Linked DNA regions of Homo sapiens: region 1 is linked to region 2. Evidence: promoter capture Hi-C in 16 types of primary human blood cells and fetal thymus (Javierre and others, 2016). All regions are on one chromosome and are shown on one strand. The core of a region is centred on a gene start or on the middle of the fragment in contact, and the rest is flanking DNA. Distances in the headings are between cores, read along the strand shown.

Region 1 (6,908 bases), core at 4,088-6,587, 1.0 Mb before region 2:
CCAACATGGTGAAACCCCATCTCTACTAAAAATACAAAAGTTAGCTGGGTGTGGTGATGCCCGCCTCTATTCCCAGCTACTCGGGAGGCTGAGGCAGGAGAATCGCTTGAACCTGGGAGGCGGAGATTTCAGTGACCAGAGATGGCACCACTGTACTTCAGCTTGGTGACAGAGTGAGACTCTGTCTCAAAAAAAAAAATAAAATAAATAAAATAAAAATACAAAAATTAGCTAGGCGTGGTGGCAGGCACCTGTAATCCCAGCTACTCACTTGGAGACTGAGGCAGCAGAATCACTTGAACCTGGGAGGTGGAGGTTGCAGTGAGCTGAGATTGTGCCACTGCACTCTGGCCTGGGTAACAGAGTGAGACTCTGTCTCAAAATAAATAAATAAATAAATAAATAAATAAATAAAAACTCGTAAAGTAAAAGTTACAGTGGCTGGGCGCGGTGGCTCACACCTGTAATCCCAGCACTTTGGGAGCCCAAGGCGTGCAGATCACGAGTTCAGGAGATCGAGACCATCCTGGCTAACACAGTGAAACCCCGTCTCTACTAAAAATACAAAAAATTAGCCAGGTGTGGTGGCGGGCGCCTGTAGTCCCAGCTACTCGGGAGGCTGAGGCAGGAGAATGGCGTGAGCCCAGGAGGCGGAGCTTGCAGTGAGCCAAGATCGCGCCACTGCACTCCAGCCTGGGCAACAGAGCAAGATTCCGCCTAAAAAAAAAAAAAAAAGTAAAAGTTACAGTAAGCTAAGGTTTATTATTGAAGAAAGAAGTATTTCAAATAAATTTAGTGTAGCCTAAATATAGTGTTGATAAAGTCTACAGTAGCGTAGAGTAGACTTTGTTCTGGGCCTTCACATTCACTCCTCAGTGACCCACGCAGAGCAACTTCCTGTCCCAGAAGCTCCATTCATGGTAAGCGCTTTATACAGACAGGTGTATCATTCTTTATTTTTTATTATTATTACTTTTTTTTTTGAGACAAGAGTTTCTCTCTGTCACCCAGGCTTGAGTGCAGTGACACTACCTCGGCTCACTGCAACCTCTGCCTCCCGGGTTCAAGCAATTCTCCTGCCTCAGCCTCCCCAGTAGCTGGGAATACAGGTGTGTGCCACCACACCCGGCTAATTTTTGTATTTTTAGTATACACAGTGTTTCACCGTGTTGGCCAGGCTGGTCTTGAACTCCTGACATTGTGATCCACCTGCCTCGGCCTCCCAAAGTGCTGGGATTACAGGTGTGAGCCACCTAGCCTGGCATACTTTTTTTGGTTTGTTTTTTTTTTTGAGATAGAGTCTCGCTCTGTCGCCCAGGCTGGAGTGCAGTGGCACGATCTCAGCTCACTGCAACCTCAGCCTCCGGGGTACAAGGAATTCTCATGCCTCAGCATCCCAGGGTAGCTTGGATTACATATCTTTATGTGATGCATGATTATATTTGCAAACCATACATCTGATAAGGGGTTAATATCCAAGATATATAAGTACTTAAAACATCTCAGTAGCAGCTGGGCATGGTGGCTCATGCCTGTAATTCAAGCACTTTGGGAGGCGGAGGCGGGTGGATCACCTGAGGTCCGGAGTTCAAGACCAGCCTGGCCAATATGGTGAAACCCAGTCTCTACTAAAACTACAAAAATATTAGCCAGGAGTGGTGGTGGGTGCCTGTAATCCCAGCTACCCAGGAGGCTGAGGCACAAGAATCACTTGAACCCAGAGGCGGAGGTTGCAGTGAGCCGAGATCGTGCCACTGCACTCCAGCCTGGGTGACAGAGCAGGACTCTGTCTAAAAAACAAAAACAGAAACAAACAAAAATCTCAATAGCAAGAAAACAATGTGATTTAAACAACACGCAAAGGACCTGAATAGATATTTCTCAAAAGAAGACATACAGCACTTTGGGAGGCTGAGGCAGGCGAATCGCCAGGTGAAGAGATCAAGACCATCCTGGCCAACATGGTGAAACCCCGTCTCTACTAAAAATACAAAAATTAGATGGGCATAGTGGTGTGTGCTTGAACCCAGGAGGCGGAGGTTGCAGTGAGCCGAGATCGAGCCACTGCACTCCAGCCTGGTGACAGAGCCAGACTCTGTCTCAAAAAAAAATAAAAAAAGACATAAAAATTTCTGGCAACTATCTGAAAAAATGCTGAACAATGCATGGATCATCTGGGAAATGCAAATTAAAACCAAAATGAGATACCACCTCACACCTGTCAGAATGGCTTATAAAAAAAAGACAAGGCCGGGCGTGGTGGCTAACGCCTGTAATCCCAGCACTTTGGGAGGCTGAGGCAGGTGGATCACGAGGTCAGGAGTTCAAGACCAGTCTGGCCAACATAGTGAAACCCCATCTCTACTAAAAATACAACAAAATTAGCCGAGCGTGGTGGTGTGCACCTGTAATCCCAGCTACTCAGGAGGCTGAGGCAAGAGAATTGCGTCAACCTGGGAGGGGGAGGTTGCAGTGAGCCAAGATTGTGCCATTGCACTCCAGCCCAGGCAACAGTGCGAGATTCACCCTCAAAAAAAAAAGGAGATTCTGTCATTTGTGACAACATGGAAGAACCTAGAGGACGTTACGGTAGGTGAAATAAGCCAGGCACAGAAAGACAAACACGACATGGTTTCACTTATATTCGGAATGTAAAACAACTCATAGAGGTGGAGAGTAGAATGATGGTACCAGAGTCTGGGGATTGGTGGGAGTTGGGGCGGTGGGGAATGGGGAAATGTTGGTCAAAGGGTACAGTTTCAGCTAGACAGGAGGATTTTTTTTTTTTTAATTTGAGACGGGGGTCTTACTATGTTGCCCAGGCTGGTCTTGAACTCCTTGGTTCAAGCAATCCTCCCACCTTGGCCTCCAAAAGGGCTATGATTACAGGCCTAAGCCACCATACCCGGCCCAGGAATGTTTTTTTTTTAGAACTATAGCATGGTATGGCCAGGTGCGATGGCTCACACCTGTAATCCCAGCACTTTGGGAGACTGAGGTGGGTGGATCATCTGAGGTCGGGAGTTCGAGACCAGCCTGACCAGCATGGAGAAACCCTGTCTCTACTAAAAATACAAAAAATTAGCTGGGGATGGTGACACATGCCTGTAATCCCAGCTACTCGGGAGGCTGAGGCAGGAGAATCACTTGAACCTGGGAGGCAGAGGTTGTGGTGAGCCGAGATCACGCCATTGCACCCCAGCCTGGGCAACAAGAGCAAAACTCTGTCTCCAAAAAAAAAAAACACAAACTACAGCATGGTCACTATAGTTAATGTATATTTCAAAATTGCTGAAAGTAGCTGGGTATGGTGATACACCATAGCCTGTAGTCCCATTTACTCAGGAGGCTGAGGCCCACAGATCACTTGATCCCAGGAGGTCAAGAACAGCCTGGGCAACAAAGCAAGACCCTGTCCCATATTTTTTTTTGAAGCAGAGTCTCACTCTGTTGCCCAGGCTGGAGTGCAGTGGCATGATCTCGGCTCACTGCAACCTCCGCCCTCCAGGTTCAAGCAATCCTCTTGCCTCAGTCCCCCAGTAGGTGGGATTACAGGCACGGTCCACTATGCCCAGCTAATTTTTGTATTTTTAGTAGAGACAGGGTTTCGCCATGTTGGCCAGGCTGGTCTCAAACTACTGACCTCAGGAGGGCTTAGTGGCTCATGCCTGTAACTTTGGGAGGCCAAGGCAGGAGGATCACTGGAGGCCAGGAGTTCAAGACCAGCCTGGACAACATAGCGAGGCCCCATCTCTATAAAAAATTTAAAAGTTAGCCAGGCATCATGATATGTGTCTGTGGTCCTAGCTACTCGGGAGGGTGAGGCAGGAGGATGGCTTGAGCCCAGGAGGTCAAGGCTGCAGTGAACTGTGATCTTGCCACTGCACTCCGTGTGGGTGACAGCACAAGACCTTATTTTCCTTAAAGGAAAAAAAAATGCTAAGAGTGGCTGGGTTGGGTGGCCCATGTCTATAACCCCAGCACTTTGGGAGGCCAAGGTGGGTGGATCACAAGGTCAGGAGTTAGTTCGAGACCAGCCTGGCCAACATGGTGAAACCCATTCTTTACTAAAAGTACAAAAATTAGCTGGGCGTGGTGGCGCGCGCCTGTAGTCCCAGCTACTCAGGAGGCCGAGGCACGAGAATCGCTTGAACCAAGGAGGCGGAGGTTGCAGTGAGCCTGGGCGACAGAGCGAGACTCCGTCTCAAAAAAAAAAAAAAATTAGCTGGGCCTGGTGGTGCGCGCCTGTAATCCCAGCTACTTCAGAGGCTGAGGCAGGAGAATCACTTGAACCTGGGAGGCAGAGGTTCCACTGCGCGGAGATCACGCCATTGCACTCCAGCCTGGGCAATAGAGTGAGACTCCGTCTCAAAAAATAAAAGTCCTTAACCAGTCCATATTTCTGAATATTTTGCTTATTCCTGCCGGCAGTGTAATACTCTGGTGAATATTTGCGTTCGAGATCCTTGCATTCCCGAGATTTCCCCAGCTCAGCCCTCTGCGTGGGTTGAACGGTATGAACCTTTTTAAGGCTTCGCTTGTACTGTACTGTCAAGCTGTTTTTTGGAATATTCGCCCCAGGTTTCTGTTCCAGCCAGCAGCCAGCATCAGCCGTCTGCATCCTTGTCCTCAAACTGCTGTTAATTAAAATCTTTGCCAATCTGGGCCGGGCGCGGTGGCTCACGCCTGTAATGCCAACACTTTGGGAGGCCGAGGCCGGCGGATCGCCTGAGGTCGGGAGTTTGAGACCAGCCTGACCAACATGGAGAAACCCTGTCTCTACTAAAGATACAAAATTAGCCGGGCGTGGTGGCGCATGCCTGTAATCCCAGCTACTTGGGAGGCTGAAGCAGGAGAATCGCTTGAACCTGTGAGGCGGAGGTTGCAGTGAGCCGAGATCACGCCATTGCACTCGAGTCTGGGCGACCAGAGCGAAACTCCGTCTCAAAAAAAAAAAAAAAAAAAAAGAAACCTTTGCCAATCTGGTAGAATTGCGGGGCTTATTTTATGGTGTCATGGAGGATAGCCTAGGGCCAGATATACCTGGGGCCCTGTGCCTGCTCTGCGAACTAGGAGCTCACTCTCCGAGCGGTGTAGAGGGTGAGACTAAGCAGTGACAGTAAAAGCTTTCGACAGTGCTTGACCCTTCCGCGGAGCGTATTAAGCAGGAGCTCCCTGCGCAGGCGCAGAGGAGAGAGTGTCTCCCACCCCACGACCAGCAGGGGGCCTGCGAGGCGGGTGCGGAGCCAGGCCTGATGGTGGCCAATCGCGAGCTGAGGCGACGATGCCACGCCCCTCATACCGGCGTCTTAAATGCGCAAAGAAAGGACGCCGGGGACACCCGGTTGGGCTCTGCTGCTCCCTTCTGGGTTCCGAGGCCCAAGCCCTTGGCAGTGTTTGTGAGTGGAAGGGAGGTCACGCTATCGTCCGCGGCCCCAGCAGCCCTGTGCCCTCGTTGGATCCCGCGACGCGGCTCCTTTAAGAGCCTCGCGGGTCGCCCGCCGCTAGGTCGCTCCCCGGCCATGCGGGCGCTGCGGGCCGGCCTGACCCTGGCGTCGGGCGCGGGGCTGGGTGCGGTCGTCGAGGGCTGGCGGCGGCGGCGGGAGGACGCGCGGGCGGCGCCGGGACTGCTGGGCCGGCTGCCCGTGCTGCCCGTGGCGGCGGCAGCCGAGTTGCCCCCTGTGCCCGGGGGACCCCGCGGCCCGGGCGAGCTGGCCAAGTACGGGCTGCCGGGGCTGGCGCAGCTCAAGAGCCGCGAGTCGTACGTGCTGTGCTACGACCCGCGCACCCGCGGCGCGCTCTGGGTGGTGGAGCAGCTGCGACCCGAGCGTCTCCGCGGCGACGGCGACCGGCGCGAGTGCGACTTCCGCGAGGACGACTCGGTGCACGCGTACCACCGTGCCACCAACGCCGACTACCGCGGCAGTGGCTTCGACCGCGGTCACCTGGCCGCCGCCGCCAACCACCGCTGGAGCCAGAAGGCCATGGACGACACGTTCTACCTGAGCAACGTCGCGCCCCAGGTAGCGCCCGCGCCCCGGGCCGGTCGCGGAATGCGGGGCCGGCGCCTGGCCTCGCGGGGCCTCGGTTTGTTCTTCTGCAGAACGGGGCAGCTGCCCAACGCGCCCCCGGTCAGGCATCGCAGTGACATCCCGTGGCGGGAGGGAGGAGCACTGGGCTCCAGGCACAGGGTCTGCAGGCCGACCAGGGCTTGAGCTTCAACTGCGAACCCTGGGCACCTCCCTGAGCGTCGCTTTCCTCGTCAAAAAAATGGGGATAATACCGTTATTCACCTTCCTCCTGCGGTAGTGATGAGGCGCTGAGGCTCACAGAGGCAAAGTGACGGGCACAGTGTCACACAGCAGAAGAAGGCTGTCTGTTGTAGAACCGCAGCGCCCAACCTATTGGGCACCAGGGTGCGGTTTCGTGGAAGACAGTTTTTCCACGGCTTGGTGGGTGAGGGCGGGTTTCAGGATAATTCAAGTGCGTTACATTTATGTACATTTTATTTCTATTATTATTACATTGTAACATATAGTGAAATATACAACTCACAGTAATGTAGGATCCGTGGGAGCCCTGAGCTTGTTTTCCTGCAACTAGACAGTCCTATCTGGAGGTGATGGGCAACAACGACAGATCAGGCATTAGGTTTTCAAAAGAAGCGCGCAACCTCCTCACATGCGCAGTTCACCATAGGGTTCCAGCTCCTATGACAATCTCCAGCCGCCACTGATCTGACAGGAGGCGGAGCTCAGGCTGCTGTGGGATCAATGGGGGGGTGGCTGTAAATACAGATGAAGCTTCCCTTGCTCGCCTGCTGCTCACCTCCTGCTGTGTGGCCCGGTTCTGGTACCGGTCTGTAGCCCAGGGGTTGGGGACCCCTAGTCTATAAAACCGTGAGCCTC
Region 2 (7,295 bases), core at 2,415-4,914:
ACGGGGTTTCTCCATGTTGGTCAGTCTGGTCTCGAACTCCCCACCTCAGATGATCCACCTGCCTCGGCCTCCCAAAGTGCTGGGACTACAGGTGAGAGCTACCGTGCCCGGCCTGAAAAGACCTTTTAAGAGGTTTTCAAAGTTCTTAAGCTGGGAAGTAGAAAGAGAGGGGCCAACTTTGACATCTTCTAGAAAATTCTAGAAATGTCATCTGTTGACTAAATATCTTGGACTCTGACTGGAGTCCAGCCCCAACTGCTCACAGCCAAACAGACTGACACTTACATGTCTGCATCCTCATCCCTTCGGTTGGTTTCTGCAGAAAACGATGTCCCCAGGTGCAGGTCCTCCTCCTCACTGATCCTGGAGGGAGAGAACAATGAGGCAGAGCTTTCAAGTCACAACTCAATGAGGCTGAGTTTTATGTTCTAAGAAGAAAACAAAGACATAAGCATTTATAATATCCTATTTACAGTTGGCAAAAAAAAAAAAATGCCGTAGTATATGTAAAGAAAAGAAACTCTAGAAATATATGCAAGCAAACTGTTGGCTGCTAGTGATACCTCCAAGGATTGAGTGGATACACTTATCCTTAGGTATCCATGGGGGATTGGTTCTAGTGTCCCTCAAGGATACCAAAATCTGCAGATAGTGAAGTCCCTTACATAAAATAGTATAATATCTGCATCTAACCTACACACACACTACCATCTGCTTTAAATCATCTCTAGATTACTTATAATACCAAATACAATGTAAATGCTATATAGTTGTCACAAAAGTACACAGTAAACTTTTATTTTTTTAATTTTTGAATTATTTGAATGTTTGATTTATTAATTTATTGAGACGGAGTCTCACTCTGTCACCCAGGCTGAAGTGCAGTGGCGCAATCTCAGCTCACTGCAACCTCTGCCTCCCGAGTTCAAGCAATTCTCCTGCCTCACCCTCCTGAGTAGCTGGGATTACGGGTGCCCACCACAATGCCCGGCTAACTTTTGTATTTTTAATAGCGACAGTGTTTCACCATGTTGGTCAGGCTGGTCTCGAACTCCTGACCTCAGGTAATCCGCCTGCCTCAGCCTCCTGAAGTGCTGGCATTACAGGCATGAGCCACCGCAGCTGGCCTGAATTTATTATTTTTGTTAATTGTTTTTATATGAAACTTCCCCATAGGTTCACTTATTTTATTTTTTTGAGACAGGGTCTTTCTCTGTCACCCAGGCTGGAGTGCAGTGGTGTGATCGCGGCTCACTCTAGCCTCAACCTCCCTGACTCAAGTGATTCTCCCACTTTAATTTCCTGAATAGCTGGGACTACAGGCACATGCCACCACACCCAGATATATACACACACATATATATATGCGTGTGTGTATATATATATATGTGTGTGTGTGTGTGTGTATATGTGTATATACATGTGTGTATATACATATGTGTATATGTGTGTACATATGTGTGTGTGTGTGTGTGTGTGTATACATACACACTTTTTTTTTTTTTTGTAGAGACAGGGGTCTCACTATGTTGCCCAGGCTGGTCTTAAACTCCTGGACTCAAGCTAACCTCAGCCTCCCAAAGTGTTGGGATTATAGGCATGAGTCATCACGCCTACAATACACTCTTACAAAAGGAGTCTACCAACTTGGCTCTAAGTTAACTTTTAAAGACTTTTTGCTTTCTTTGTTTTTAAATAACACACCCTTTGCAAAGCACAAAACCTGCTTCAAGATGTCCTACTAATGCTGCTGCTACAGGCCCCAGCTCTCTGAGGGAACCTAGACCCAGGCAGCCGCTAAAGGTGAATTTGCATCTAAGCTTGTCCTGAACTTACTTATCTTTGCCCCTTTCCTTCAGTTTCTTCATATCCACCATACCACCTGTCTTCATCTGAAAGGGATCATCCTGCAGAAAGCAAACACAGTTAAGAGGAAGCATCTAAATACATGGTAGTGGAATTTTTTTTTTTGTGAAGCACGCTCACTCACTGAAGAGCACTGCAGGGAGGGCTGCCATAACTACTCAGGGAAGACCCCATAACTTACCACTAGAGTGGTCTCCTCTTGTACCTTCTCTCCCACCAGCAAGGCCACAGCACTGAGCAAAACCAAAAAAAAAAGAGAGGGGGAGAGAGAGAAATGGCATAATTCAGAGATAAGGAGGAACCCTCTCAGGTATGCGGATTGCAACATTAGTGCAAGGGTGGGATTTGAGGGGTGGGTAGGCAAGCCGGCTGGAAAAGCCTATAAGCATAAGACAGGGCTCAACGAGCACCGCAGATGCTGGAAGAAGGGTGCGCTGGTGGTGAAGTGGTACACTTTGCCACTTTCCTGTAAAGCCATTTGGCATTATCTTGGCCTGGAAATCTCATTTCTAAGATATTCTCATCATGGAAAGTGCAGCTAAAGATAAATTTAAGAGAATATCCACTGCAGCCTTATTTGATAGTAAAAATTTACAAAATCACCTACATGTCCCAAAATAGGGGATTTGTTAACAAATTACAATACACACATCTGGTGGAATATTATGCAGCCATTAAGGCTTTCTGAAAAATATTCCACAATATGGGTGAATGCCCACAATGTCATAATGAGTTGAAAAGAACAGGGAATAAAAGTACATAGAAAGTTGTTCACAATCTGAGAGAGAGAGACGAAAAAAAACAGATTGGAAAGAGTATTCAATATTAATACCAGTGCATTCTTGGGTGGCTCTGCAAGGAAAAAAAATGTTAACACTGATCATTTCCGGATGGGAGAATTATGGGTGCTTTTTATCGTCTTGACTATACTTTTCTAAATTATACAAACTCTTAACGATCGATATGCATTTCACAATTAATTGGTTTTAATAAAAAACGCGAGTTAGTGATCTGTTTCTGTATCTCTGGAGCACACCCCGAGACGACACAGCTCAGGGCATGTCCTGGTTAAACATTTGCAAAGAACGCTGTTCTCCAAGTTGGGCAGTGGAAGGTGTACAGTGTGTCAAGAGAAAAATCTACGTCTGAGGAGATATTTGTGACAGCGACCCGGACGCGGATGTGTCTGTCGTCCCCGCCGCCTCCTCCTCCTCCCCGCGTGGTACCCACCTCACCCCGTTGGGCCTCTTCCTCAAGTTCTGTACCTCTCTGGTCTCTTCCAGTTTTAATCTTTAAAAAGAAGAAGAAGCAGCAATGCATAAGCTGAGTGATTCCCCGCGGAATCCAAAGCTAACAGAGCCAATAAGGCACCTTCGAGGGCATCCCAGCCCAGCTACTGAGCCACCAGCACAGTGGTCCAGAGGACGACCTTGTGCCTAGACCCACCGGGAGTCAGAGCCACTGCGCATCCCGGAGGCATCTCTCTCAACCGTTCGAGCTTGGGGCGGTGGCCTCACCCCTTGAGCCTCAATTTCTGCGTCCGCAGAAGGAACCACCACCCGAGCTCACAGTTAACAATGTCAGCGAAGCGCCGAGCCGGTGGTGAGTCCCCCAAACAAGTCTATCTTTACCAAGCCTATGGGAGCCCCGCCCCAAACGCACCGAACCTCCTCTGAGTCCTGCTCATCTTCCTCTGACTCCGAGTCGCCCCGGCGGCGACGGAAAATCTTCCGGACGACCGGCATGGTGACAACGGCCGAGTTGTACAGCCGCCGCGCCTCTGCGCAGCGGCCCAGGCTGCTTCCGGCGCGCGGCAGAGCGGTCAGAGCGCCTGCCCCGTCTGGCCCCGCCCCCGGCACGCACAGTCCGCGTGGCCACGCCCCCTCTCCTGGCGTCAGCCTCTTCCGATTGGACGGCAGAGGGAAGGAGGTGGGGCGTCGCCAGACGGCCCCACAACCCTGCGCGTCGCCTCAGAGGGGGCGCGCTTGACTGACAGGCGGCGGCGGCGCAGTTGCGAGTGCAGGTGAGTTCCGGGCCGCCACCGGCTGCTTCTGTGGGCCGGGCCTCTGAGCATTGGCGACCCCAGCCCGGCTCCGGGCTGACAGGGCCTGGCTTCGCCAGGTACGCCAGACGCAGCGGCCCGGTGAGCGGAGCCCGGGACCCCCCCGGCCGCCGCCGCCCCTCTCCCCTCCTCCGGTCGGCGCCCAGGGGGGCCTCTGGGCCCCAGCACCACCCCACTCTGAGCTCCCTGGGGGCTCGTGGCTTCTCCAGAACCGGGGCCGCCCCCCTCTCATTTCTGCCGGGGCCTGACCTAGCGTTGAAAGCATCCGCGTGGCGTCTCGCGTCTCGGGCGCTGACTTTTCTTTCCTCGGGCTCTGAGCCCTGACGTGCGTTTTTTTCTTTCGGAACAAAAGATGACCACTTCTCTGCGGTGCTGACTTAGAGTCCCAGCGCCGACTGCCTCACAAATAATGGCCCCCAGCTTCTCCGCGAGGAGAGGCGCGTCTGATGTTTTGAAGCCACGCAAGAGGGTTTGAGCCGGGGGACTCCTCCTCGGTGCTTGCCGGCCACCCCCCTGGACCTTCACGGGTCTGGTTTTCCTCCTTCGGCAGGTCTGTCGCTCTACCCTCTGCCCCTTCCACCCCGAAGATGCTGTGAGGATAAAGTTTATTTGAAAAACTGGTATCAGCAAACGCTTAGGAAATACCTAAATGCATAAATAATGGCTTCTAGGACTTTTAAGAACCCCTTAAGTAACAGTAGTTTTCCTTTTCTCAGTGTCATCCCTTACTTTGAGAACTACCTCTTATTAAGCAGTTACTATGTGGCAGGCCCTGGGCAAAGCATCATCTCATTGAATTCTCCCAGCAATCCTTTGAGGTAGATTGTTTTTCGTTTTACAAATGAGAATGCGGAGTCTCCGAGGGGCAGTGCACGCCTCAAGTTACCCAGCTAGGAGGTGGAACAGGAATTGGTTGCAGGTCAGTCTCTGCCGCACGGTTTGCACAGGGCCTGGCACGGTAGGAGTGCAGTAGATGTTTGCTGCTGCTGCAGCTGCTGTTACATCTCATTGGCTAGGGGGAGGGGCCGATGGGGGCTGTCTGGGGTTCCCCTTTCTGGAAGACCATTCCGAAGCAGGGCAGCATTTCTAGAATGCCTTACGTTTTCTCTGGAACAGTCTCCACTGAGATTGTTCTTCTCTTCCTTGGGCTGGAAAAAATAGTAGACTCGGGACTTCTTGCACCAGCGTTTTATCTTTGGTCAAAAGCCATATATTAAAGTCTCAAAGTCTTGCCCTCTGCAGACTGGTTCAGCCAAACCCAGATGCACGTGCACTCACTGGATACGGAGTCCCTGTCAGATGATGGAGAGGCTCCTTGGGAATTGCTGCAGGAGTCCAGGGGGTCAACGTCTGCAGCTCTCACGCTCTCAGAGGTGGCTCTGAATCTGCCCATCAAGCAGCCCATCCACCAGGGGGTACTGGACACTACTAAGGAAAGGGCAAGAAGGCCAGGGGCATTTCTGGACCCTCCTCCTCAGCTGAAGTCCCAGGGTACAGATGAGCTGCTCCCACCCTTGCTCCATGAGGCCAGAGGACCCAGTGATAACCACCACCTGTGCTGTGGCAGATCTAATTGAGTGCTCTTTAGCAAAAGGAATGCTGAAAAAGTGGCAGCTATGAATCTGGCAGTAAGTGGCTTTGCCAAGAGACTGCAGCCCAAGTCTCACTGGGCCCTTTTAAGCGTAGGATGAGACTGTCTCTCAAAAGGACCCTCCGAGAAATACAGGTTCTATGCAGTTCAAAGATGAATCCAAGGTCTTAGTCTTGTTTGGGAGTTCAGTTGTTTTAAGAAAATGTACAGATTCAACCTAGGTTTTGGTTGGTTTCCTAGCTCCTTTCTGGAGCCAGATGAAATGTTGGCTTGTTTCAGGGTTCAGGGAGCATTCATGTCCGATTGGATTTGGGATCCAGCAACGTGATACAGTTCACAGCCCAGCTATAGTCGGCATCCAATAAATGTATTTATTGGATCAATGTATTCAACAGATTCTTAGCATTTACTATATGAGCAGGCACTGTTCTAAGTGCTTGAAATAAGTCAGCAAAAGAGACAAAAGATCCCTGATTAGTTGAGTGTATGTTCTCACAGTAAAGTATGTAAAGTGTGTTAGAAGATGGTAAGTGCTGTGGAAAAGAAACAAATAGAGCAAAACAAGGGAATCACCTCCGGGAGGGTGGCAAGGTTGAGTTGCAAATTAAAATTAGCGCATTCTGGTTTGGGATTTGGTTGGAAACATGACAGATAAAGCAGTGGATTGAATGATAGGCCTTGGGTTCCAGTCACTGCCTGGTGGTTTTAGGGGTCTGTAAGCTTGAACTTTATTTTACAAAAGCTTTTATTTAGAGTGTACACCCTGAACTCAAGTCCTGATTGTGGGGTATTTAACAGTGATGAAAGAGCCAGGCTGTTCTTAGCCTTTTACCTTAGCAAGACAAACAGTATCCAACTGGTTCTCATTAGCATGAAGGAGGAAACTTGGAGAAGCCATGCACGTTGACAACAATTTTTTTTTTTTTTTTTGAGACGGAGTCTCACTCAGTTGCCTAGGCTGGAGTGCAGTGGTGCGATCTTGGCTCACTCCAACCTCCGCCTCCCAGGTTCAAGTGATTCTCCTGCCTCAGACTCCTGAGTAGCTGGGATTACAGGCGCCCACCACCACACCTGGCTAATTTATGTATTTTTAGTAGAGACGGGGTTTCACCATGTTGGCCAGGCTGGTCTCAAATTCCTAACCTTGAGTGATCCGCCCGCCTCAGCCTCCCAAAGTGCTGGGATTACAGGTGTGAGCCACTGTGCCCGGCTAACAACAAATATTTAAAGGCAGGAAAGTGGCAGTGCTCTTTGGCTCCAGTGAGCAGTCATGGCTCAATAAATAGAAATTTCAGGAGAGCCAATTTCCATTGATTATAAAGACTTAGGTTTGTAGCAACTAGAGCTGCCCTCTGGGAAAAGGGTGATTTTATCATCAACGACTGCTCAAACTGGGTTTGGAGAACAACCCAGTATGGCTTTTACAGAGCAGAGTTGTGCCTTAAGGGGAAGATGCATGGTTTCTAAACCCCTTTAAACTCTGAGATTGCATGGGGGAAGGCAGCTGCAGATCATGCTGCCTGAAAAGAGAGGATCTGATTTCAGGCCCCAGAAATCATGATTTTCCTAGTTCTTAGTTTCCGCATCTCTAATGTGAGTTTTTTCTAAGGTTTCTAGTCTGAGCTTCGAGACTGAGTTTCTGCTCATGCTTACTCACCACTGAGTGTGAGGCTTTTAATGACCTGGGCCAGTGACTGGCTGCAGCCTAGGGTAGCCCCAAACCCACGCCTTCTCCAATTAAGGGACTCTTCCGGACAGAGCTCAGAGCAAAGGGTA

What was found. The method cuts DNA at HindIII sites, captures the fragments that hold promoters and counts their contacts. A CHiCAGO score of 5 or more calls a contact.
Region 1: a contact is called between the fragment with the promoter of ENDOG here and the fragment with the promoter of C9orf78 in region 2, in 5 of 17 cell types (fetal thymus, naive CD8 T cells, neutrophils and 2 more). The highest score is 9.0, in fetal thymus.

What each region holds. Positions count from the first base shown.
Region 1 is chr9:128,813,163-128,820,070 of GRCh38, forward strand. ENDOG (endonuclease G) reads left to right here and starts at 5,338. Exons shown (of 3, transcript NM_004435.2): 1 at 5,338-6,023. The coding sequence starts at 5,523. It overlaps KYAT1-SPOUT1 (KYAT1-SPOUT1 readthrough), which reads right to left. Exons shown (of 25, transcript NR_182311.1): 25 at 6,489-6,908. It overlaps SPOUT1 (SPOUT domain containing methyltransferase 1), which reads right to left. Exons shown (of 12, transcript NM_016390.4): 12 at 6,489-6,908. RefSeq lists a silencer at 5,572-5,631 and enhancers at 5,736-6,301, 6,252-6,341. The HindIII fragment of the contact is 1,677 bases long and covers 5,125-6,801 here.
Region 2 is chr9:129,831,611-129,838,905 of GRCh38, forward strand. It overlaps C9orf78 (chromosome 9 open reading frame 78), which reads right to left and starts at 3,665. Exons shown (of 9, transcript NM_016520.3): 1 at 3,529-3,665; 2 at 3,097-3,156; 3 at 2,048-2,099; 4 at 1,837-1,907; 5 at 286-363. The coding sequence starts at 3,611. It overlaps USP20 (ubiquitin specific peptidase 20), which reads left to right and starts at 3,848. Exons shown (of 26, transcript NM_001110303.4): 1 at 3,848-3,889. RefSeq lists silencers at 3,597-3,946, 3,977-4,126 and an enhancer at 4,098-4,598. The HindIII fragment of the contact is 4,419 bases long and covers 1,819-6,237 here.